2 separate regions of the Homo sapiens genome follow, and region 1 is linked to region 2. Evidence: promoter capture Hi-C in human tissues and cell types (Jung and others, 2019). All regions are on one chromosome and are shown on one strand. Each heading gives the region's core, a stretch centred on a gene start or on the middle of the fragment in contact. The rest is flanking DNA. Distances are from core to core; before and after follow the strand shown. Region 1 overlaps LOC124905591 (a long non-coding RNA gene). Region 2 holds the start of COA5 (cytochrome c oxidase assembly factor 5).

The links. The method cuts DNA at HindIII sites, captures the fragments that hold promoters and counts their contacts. A contact is called where the count stands out against the background at its distance.
Region 1: a contact is called between a fragment that was not itself captured here and the fragment with the promoter of COA5 in region 2, in 1 of the 25 tissues and cell types used here (mesenchymal stem cells).

The regions. Positions count from the first base shown.
Region 1 is chr2:97,999,110-98,003,412 of GRCh38, forward strand. It overlaps LOC124905591 (a long non-coding RNA gene), which reads left to right. Exons shown (of 2, transcript XR_007087148.1): 2 at 1,944-2,832. Among named protein-coding and RNA genes, the nearest start is that of TMEM131, 5.3 kb to the left of the region's middle. The HindIII fragment of the contact is 3,554 bases long and covers 113-3,666 here.
Region 2 is chr2:98,606,444-98,611,328 of GRCh38, forward strand. It overlaps COA5 (cytochrome c oxidase assembly factor 5), which reads right to left and starts at 2,069. Exons shown (of 3, transcript NM_001008215.3): 1 at 1,864-2,069. The coding sequence starts at 1,962. It overlaps UNC50 (unc-50 inner nuclear membrane RNA binding protein), which reads left to right and starts at 2,146. Exons shown (of 6, transcript NM_014044.7): 1 at 2,146-2,283; 2 at 3,313-3,596; 3 at 4,332-4,452. The coding sequence starts at 3,317. RefSeq lists an enhancer at 1,221-2,210 and a silencer at 2,274-2,373. The HindIII fragment of the contact is 3,715 bases long and covers 1-3,669 here.

The sequences.
Region 1 (4,303 bases), core at 640-3,139, 610 kb before region 2:
CTGTCAAAAGTAGCTATTAGTGAGCACTCACTCTTTTCAAAACACCACATTAGGCACGAAGATCCTTGATCCATTGATACCTCCACTTCATTCCACAAAATACTTAAGGAGGTGTGCAAGAATGCCTTCTATGAATTAAAACTGGAACTAGGAGGGAGTAAACTGTTGGGCTTTCCAGGGTTCTATCTCCTTTGCTGCATAGGTGAATGCACCTGGTATCCTGCCGTTCAACACCATCTATACACTTTCAGGTCCCCACTTCATGTCACCAGCCAGACCTCGCTGTCTCTATTGCTGTTCCCACTCAGGTGTATAATGAGGTGTCTTAAACTCACATGAACTCCACATCTTCCCATGCAAACATGCTTCACCCACAGCCTTTCCTATCTCCAGGGCAACTCCAACCATCCAGTTGCACAGGCCAAAAACCTGGGAGTCATTCTTTACTCTCTCCACATGTACCCAAATCTAACTGCTTCTCACCACCTGCACTACTCCACTCTGGTATGAGCCCTGTCATCCGCTGCCTGGATTTCTGCAAGAGCTTCCTAACAGGTTTCCCTGTTTCCACCTGTAAAAGAAAATTTTCCACTTACAACACTTGCATAGTAGATATCAAAACGGAATGCTATGCTCTACCACAACTGGTTCTAACCAACTGAAGCAGATCAAGGACTGTGAACTTTGAGTGACCCCATACCAGACCCTTGTTAGACCTAACCAAAGACTCCTTTCTGACCAGTTAACAAAGGGACATGTTTTATCAACACTATTCCAACCTATCCAGAGCACTACTTTCCAGCCCTTAATCCGCATAACCTCCAAACTCCCTTCTCTCTTTCTCACACTTAAAAAACCCTGACTTTTCCTAATTCATGAGTTACTCAGTGAACTTTTTCACTGGTGTGTTTACATCCACCCCTGGCAGTATATAAACTCATCTTTGATTTTTTTTTTTTTTTTGAGTTTTGTTGGGCTTTGCTTTATATTTTGACATAAATTTGTACTTTTATAGTCTATTGTCAACCTGACAGCCAGCATGATCCATTTAAAACATAAGACATGTCACGTCTCTCAATGTTCACATCCTGCAGTGGCCTGCTTAATGTTTTTAAAAGCAGTTGGGGAAAGTGAAATTTTAATTTTTAGAGACTGTATATTAAAAAAAGCAATAACAGGGAATATTTGAATACCCATCTCAGGGTAAAAGCTTCCTTGATCTGGCTTGCCCCGGTCTTTCCATTCCTCCTGGATTCCTCCAGGCTCGGTCTGTTTCAGCTGAAATGACCACCATTTTGTTCCTGGAACATATCAGGAATGCTTCTACTCCAGGGTCTATCCTCTAGCCCTCCACCTGAAGTGCTTTCTCCCCACCCCCTTCTCCCTGGTTCTCTGCTGGGCTCACTGTCATACTTCCTCTCAGTCTTGGCTCAGTTATGATTTTCTTGGCGAAGCATACCCTGATCACCACTGTTAATACTGCAGCTTATTACACCTACCCTCAAGACCCAATCCTCCTTACCTTGCACTCATTTTCCCCCCATAACACTTATCACTTTCTATAATACTATATACTTTACTTACTCATTAAATGTATTGTTATTACCAATCTTTCCCCCCATTCGTTTTGCTCACTGATGAATTCCGAGCTTCTACAATATTGGCACATATTGGGCACTCAATAACACTTATTACATGAATGGATAGATGAATGGATGAATGAACAGAACTAAAAGATAAAGATCACGAAGACATAGTCCTTCTCCTCCAGGGAGCTTCAAATCTGGTAAATAAGAGACATATACAAAATATGGTAGAATAGGAAGAAATGAATCAAAGGAGGAAAGAGGAGGAGTATTAAATGAAGGCAACTCTGGGTTCTACTCATTTCTTTATTTACCCAGCCTTTTCAAGTTCTTTAACTGATTTTTCTTTATTTTCAGTTCTCTGTCTCTTTCATCTAGTCTGAAGCCCACAGCAGTCAAGCGAGTAAGAAGGAATATGGCATCTTGTCTGTCTTATTCAGGATGAAGAGTAACCTGCTTATTTTGTCTCCTGTGTCCCTTATTCCTTGGGAGGTTTCCCTGGGTGTTATTCTTAAAAAAAGTCAGCTCACGAAGCCTAAGGTTTAAGTCTGTTCAACTTAGTAGTAAATTATGGTAACCTAGGGTAGGGCAAATAGACCTCAGTCAAGTTCATGCAGCAGGATGAGGGTAGTAGCTTCTGAGCATGTGGGCCGAGCTCTGTATCAGTGTGGATCCCATATTTGAAGATCCTTATTCATATATTCCTCAGGAAAACTAGATTCCTTTGCAATTTCTAAATCTACATGAACTAAGATCTCATCAATGACCACTACCACAACACATACATACCTTTACTAATAAACATACTGGATTTAGATGTGAGAATTAATGATGGGTTTGTTCAATATTTTCCTTCCAAGCTGACTGACACAGTTTATAAGCTTATATTTATTTTTCTGGCATTCTTTAGAAATGTTTTTTGGGACAAACAGCCAAGTTTAACATGAATCAAAATCTTGGCCTGCCCTTTCAACTCCTCCACAATAGGCTCCAGCGCCACTCTGATTTTTTCTCTCCTGCAACATTTAATTATTAATCTTGTGACTTTTGAAAAATGTCATGTGGTTTGGTAGTCTTTCAATTAAAAGGAGGGAAATAATACCCTAGTATTTTTCTTGTTCCTTCCACCTCCCCTTACCATTGTCCTCTCTAGTACTGATGAGTACTTTAAAGTTGATTTTTAGGCTGCCCTGAGTTTCTGAATGTTCCTAAACACCATTATTAAAGAAGCCTGCCTCACCCGTCATTCAACTGTACTTAATATTGCATTGCTTGGTGGAAACTAACAGCCATGGAAAGCCATTCAGGGGAAAAAAAGGCCATTGAACAATGTATTGAGGGATGTTTGTGTTTCTCCCTCTCCCTATTATTTAATTGCTTGTAACTGTAAAATTCCCAGCAATAGTAAGTAAAGGCAAAGATCAACATATTCAAGATGCAGATAAATACCAGAAACAATGAAAAAATTAAAACAGTAAAATAATGACAATTGCAGAGACAAATATAAGGTAGGAGAGACACAATTCTCTCTGCCAAGTCTGGTGTGAGTTCCCTAAATGAAGAATCGAGAATTGGCCATTTTGCATGGCCTCTGCAGGGTGGTCTGAGGGCAGGCATCACAGCTAGCGCACACACGTACCTGTGCAGTGTTTTCCAGAAGGTAAATTCTACTTCCTTTAAATGTTATTACTTTAATTTCTGGTACTTTAACAAGTTAAATTTAGTATTTTAAATCTGATAGGCTGGGTGCAGTGGCTCACGCCTATAATCCCAACACTTTGGGAGGCCGAGGCGGGTGGATCACCTGAGGTCAGGAGTTCAAGACCAGCCTGACCAACATAGTGAAATCTCGTCTCTACTAAAAAAAAATTACAAAATTAGCCGGGCGTGGTGGTGCATGCCTGTAATCCCAGCTACTTGAGAGGCTGAGGCAGGAGAATCGCTTGAACCCAGGAGACAAAGGTTGCAGTGAGCTGAGATTGTGCCACTGCACTCCAGCCTGGGTGACAAGAGCAAAACTCCATCTCAAAAAAATAAAAATAAAACAAACAAATAAATAAAATAAATCTGATATTTTAAAACCACACACCATGGCTGGTCAGAAGTCTTTATGACCATGAATTAACAAGTGTTTGAATTATTCTTAAAAATGTTAGCAAAGAAATAGTCTGTGCAAAATCTCAAGGGGAATAATTTTGTTTCACCTTTAGTCTACATTACGGTGAGCATCTGTATTCAGTCCTAAAGTTTTTAAAACTAATTTTTTAAATTAACAAACAATAATTGTATATATTTATTGTATACATGATGTTTTGAAATATGTATATGTTGTGGAATGGCTAAATTGAGCTAATTAACATATGCATTACCTCTAATACATTCTTATTTGTGGTGAGAACACTGAAAATCTACTCTCTTTGCAATTTTCAATAATACAATACATTAACAATGGTTACCATGCACTGTCATAAAAGTTTGATGCTTCGAAGCCCTTTCATAGTTTATGCAGGCAAGGAAATATTAATAGCAGAGTCTTTGATCTCCATAAAATATGTGTTCTATCACACTGGAAAATATGATTGCCAGTAAGAGAACTGCTCTTTTTGGTGGAGTAAATATGATTTTCATTTTGACAATGTAATTTTGCTTCTTGTGAATCATCTTACACCAAAATAGCCATAGGATTTTAGAACAAGAAATGGATCTTAAATATTTAT
Region 2 (4,885 bases), core at 819-3,318:
AACTGAGCACTGGTAAGGCCACATATTCAATGGCGGGAAAAGCAAAGTCTGTACCAGCTGTCCCAACCATAATCTCTGCCTACAGCATTCTAGCCAAACAGCTCCGCTTTCTATACTGGAGAGACCATGTTCCATTCATCAGTATTTGTTCCCTGAACTGGAGCCTGGCGCTCCGTACATGTTTGCTGTATCAACCGCTGCAGAAAGCCAGCTTGGAATTCTCTGTGCTGCTGCTATTGTCCTCCACTTGGAGTTTCTTTCCTCAGTCCTACTCAGTGTACTTTCTTCCCTTGACTACTCATCAACATGGCCTTCCGATGCTGAACGTCTGGATAAAATCCAGTCTCCTCACTCTGACACACATACAGGCCTTCACACCTGGCTGCAACCTTCCCCTCAGGCCTTCTGTCGCATTCCCCTATGGCAGGACACTAGCTCCTCTGCGCCCTCCCACATCTCCCTGCCTCTGCACTTGCTGTTCTTTCAGATTTTCCCCACAACCACAACAGTTCCCACTCCTTTACTTGATAAACTACTACTCAACTTTTAAGACTCAGCTCAAATGTCATCTCAGAAGATTCCAAATTCTGAAGCAAAATCAGACGCTCTCCCTTGGGCTAACGCATTTTTCTCCTCAAGATCTAGTCATTAAACACATGTTTAATAAATGCTTACAGTCTTATGGCAGGAATTTAGACCCTTAGATGTCTATTTCTCCCATGACACCAAGCTTACATGGGTAGTGACTGTTACTGATTCATCTTCGTTATCACCAGTGTCAGGTACCATGCCTGCCACTTAAGAGGCATTTACCAGGAGCTGGCTGAACGGCAGCACCAGTGAGTAAGGGGCAGAAGGGACACAGCCCTGGACAGGGGAGCCTGAAAACAACGGTACTTCAGTTTCCTCATTTATATAAGGAAGTTGGGCGAGATAATCTCTTAAATTTATAATAACTCAAGTTTTACTAGACATTGGGAGGCGAGAATGGCTGACTGCTAAAATCAGTGAACCAAACAAATTGTGACTCGGTAGAAACACTGGTACAGTCTTACAGTGGATGTCCATTTGGGGGTAATCTTTTCTCTGAAATAACAGCAACTTTCTGAAACTACATCCCCCAATGCAAAGACAATTGCACACAATTGAATGCCCTCTCGTCGGGCCTCTGCAATTGGAAAAGGCACTTGTGCTTTACTTGAGCTCTAATCCAGAACTCAGGTCCACTGTGAACCTCACTACATGTTTCAGTGCATTCCAAGAGGGTGCTGAGGAGACCTGTGTCTGTAGCCGGGGAGTGAAGGAAGAGTGTAGGGGAAGCAAGATACGAAATCGTGAAAATATGGAGTTGCCTTATTTTTACAACTTAACATCCAAGAATGCAGAGAACTGTAACTCAGAAACAAATTCACATCAACACAAGTCAAACTGAGCACACATTGTCACAACTGAACAGGCAGGAGACACTACTGGCCAGGGCAGTGTACCAGGTTTACGCAACTCTCTGGAATCATTAATTCTACAGATTATCATTTCTAGGCAGGCAAGAAACCTGGCTTATTCTCCTTTATGTCTCCAAAGCCTAGTAGAGTGCTAGCATTCAATAAAGGCTTCGTGAACTGAAATGGGTTAACCTTTACAAAAACCCGACAGGGTGCGTTTATCGTTATCTCCGATTTAACCCCACAGGGAACTGGGGCTCCGACAGCTCAGTGGATCTGCGCACGTTCAGTGAGCCCGAGCTGTGACCTACGCCCGGGATGGTTAACTCCAACCGCCGCCGCGGGCGACCCGCTGCCCTCCGCCGAGCCAGGCCTGCCTGGGACAGGGGTCGTCACCACCGGGAGCGCCCGGCCGCGCTACCTGGACCACACAGTCCGACTGCAGCAGACACGCGCCCAGGTCCTCCTTCAGGCCCGCGCACGCGCCGCCCTGCGGCTTGTCCTCATAATACTTAGGCATGACGGCGCTTCCCCTCCGATGCGGACGCGACTTTCTCCCACCGCAACACTTGCAACCGGGTCGGGAGCGAGCGAGGCCCCAGTCTCAGGGGACCGGAAGCCAGCGGCAACAACTTCCGGCGGGCCGCGGCGGTAGGGCCGAGGACTACGGGGGCCGAGAGGTGGCGCGTCCGCGGCGGAAGTCGGTTCCCGTGACGCGGCGCGCCCCAAGGGCCGGCTCCGTTGAGGGAAGGGAAGCCCGCCCGGTGGCGGCTGGGGTCGGCTGCTGGGAGGAGGTGGTGGGCTGGTTCGGACGTGGGTCGAGGCTGTAGCAGGACTCCAGGTGAGGCCTGAGGACCACTCTGCCCTCCCGCGGCCCGGGCTCGCGCCGGGGGCCATTTAATCCCGACAGCTTGCGGCCTGACGTCGCTGCGGCCTGGCAGTGACCATGTCGGCGTCCGGCCCCTCGGCCGGCGATAGAGTTGCGGCTAAAATGAAAGGACGCCCAGTTACATTTGCATCGTAGATAAAGAAAGAGCATTTAGTATAAGCATGTCCGAAATGTTGCGTGGGATGTAGGCATACTAAAACCTTATTCGTGGCCTGTCTGAAATCCAAATGGAGCTGGGTATTCTGTGTTTTTATTTGCTAAATCTGGCAGCCGTACCCGCGGCCCCGGGCAGGGAGGGAGCAGCTGGGCTCGGCCAGACCCTGCCGGCGTCTGGGGGGCCTGCGAAGTGGAGGGGAGACGGGCAGCCGGGCAGTGGCCGGCGTTCCCCGGAGCTCGGACCGGTTGGATTGGACTCCGACGCTACCGCTCCCTCTGCTGAACTATTCCGGATGTAAAACACTAGGGATCGGAGTTTTTCTTGGTTTTTTAATCTCATTCTAGTGACCGAGAAGCTTGCTGGCAGTGCGCTGATGGATCTGTGTGAATAGGCCATTTATTTGACCTCTTCAGTAACACTGTTCTAACCGGCTGAAACTGCTTTCTTAGGCATTTTCTTAAAAGCTTGGTGGTTAAGAGCACGGAATTTCGAGTCAGATTTCCAATCTTGGCTCTATCACTATCCTCGGAGTCATGGGGCAGTCACATCATCCCTGTCTCTGTAATGGTAGCTGCCCCTGGATAAGTGTTATTAGGTGATTCAGAAGGGTGGGCTGTTGCCCTTGCCTGAGGTTGCAGTCTGCGGTTCCCAAGCCCCAAGACCCGCCTCAGAACTAACTGCATTTGCTTTTGACTCCTGGCCTTTCTCTAGGGTTGGGAAGAACATGGAAAGTGACCTCCCTGCCAAATAACTCAGAAGAGGAGTGTCGGTAGCCAAATGTTTCTTCAGAATACGTGTAAAAGAAATGTTTTTCTTCCATCTAGGAAGATGTTACCGAGTACTTCAGTGAATTCCTTAGTGCAGGGGAACGGAGTCTTGAATTCCAGGGATGCGGCAAGACACACAGCCGGAGCGAAACGCTACAAATATCTGAGAAGGCTTTTCCGCTTTCGGCAAATGGACTTTGAATTTGCTGCCTGGCAGATGCTCTACCTGTTCACATCCCCACAGAGAGTTTACAGAAATTTTCATTATCGAAAACAGACGAAGGACCAGTGGGCCAGAGATGACCCTGCTTTCTTGGTCCTGTTAAGTATCTGGCTCTGTGGTAAGTGTGTTTATCTGAGATAGAATTGAACGCTGAGTGTTTCTGATTAGATTTTTTGTTATAAATGTGTTGTGGGTCAGAATCTGGAAATATTGGAAACTATTTCTCCTTTTTACTGAAGCCTCAAAAAATCTCACAGGAAAGAAAGTTGTAGTCTTGGTTCTACAGGTCCCAAGCAGATGCCAGAGTAAACTGTTACCCTAGGACATTGAAAAGCAGGGGACAAGATTCACTCCATATCTTTTTAAGTACTTGAATCGGTACCCAAATGTCAGCTGACTGTGAATAGGAATATGAAACTGGAAATTGCATTTCACAGGCAAATCCACAGTGAGAATTGTAAAGGTATTGATGGGAACCTGAGAAACTGAAGTTCTCCAATTCCATAATGCAAGGGTCTCATTTACCTGTAGGGTGTTGAAGTGGGTAAGATATTGAAGTTTATAGGGTGTTTTGCACCTTAACTGGACTTAAACTATGTTAGTGCCTTCTCTACACTGGCGTTCTAAATACTGAGGCCACCGTGGTGAATCAGCCTGGCAAGGGCCCACCTCAGGAAACTTCAACTCTCTCAGTGGCCACGCTGTGTCCCAAGGTAGTGTTCACACATCTTGGGAGTTTTGTTTAAAGACCTGTCTCTCCCACTAGCCTGGGCATCTGGAGGGCAAGGGATGTGTCCTGTATTTCCAGAACCTAGCAGAGTCCCTAAATGAATCTTGTGAATCTTTCTTTCAGTGTCCACTATAGGATTTGGCTTTGTGCTGGACATGGGATTCTTTGAGACAATAAAGCTTCTCCTTTGGGTTGTACTCATAGATTGTGTAGGCGTTGGTCTTCTGATAGCAACTTTAATGTGGTAAGTACCATAACTTTGGTTTTTCAGATACTGCTGTAGCATCTCCATTTGTTTGCTTCAGAGGTACAATAGCAGCAGATGGAAATTGAAACCCAGGTAGAGTTACTAAATGATCAATTTTGACTGCCAAGATTATTACAATTTTCCCTCCTGTGTTGCCACCTATATCAGAAAATACTATAAAGGCTGGTTTATAATATTGTCAAATGTAGCAAATAATTGAAATAATTATGTTTTGAACCCAAAATATCTGAGATCGGTCTCAATTTAGAAAGTTTAGTTTGCCAAAGTTAAGGACATGCCTGTGACACAGCCTTAGGAGGTCCTGATGACATGTGCCCAAGGTGGTCGGGGCACAGCTTGCTCTTATACATTTTAGGGAGACTTGAGACATCAGTCAATATGTGTAAAATGTACATTGTTTTAATCCAGA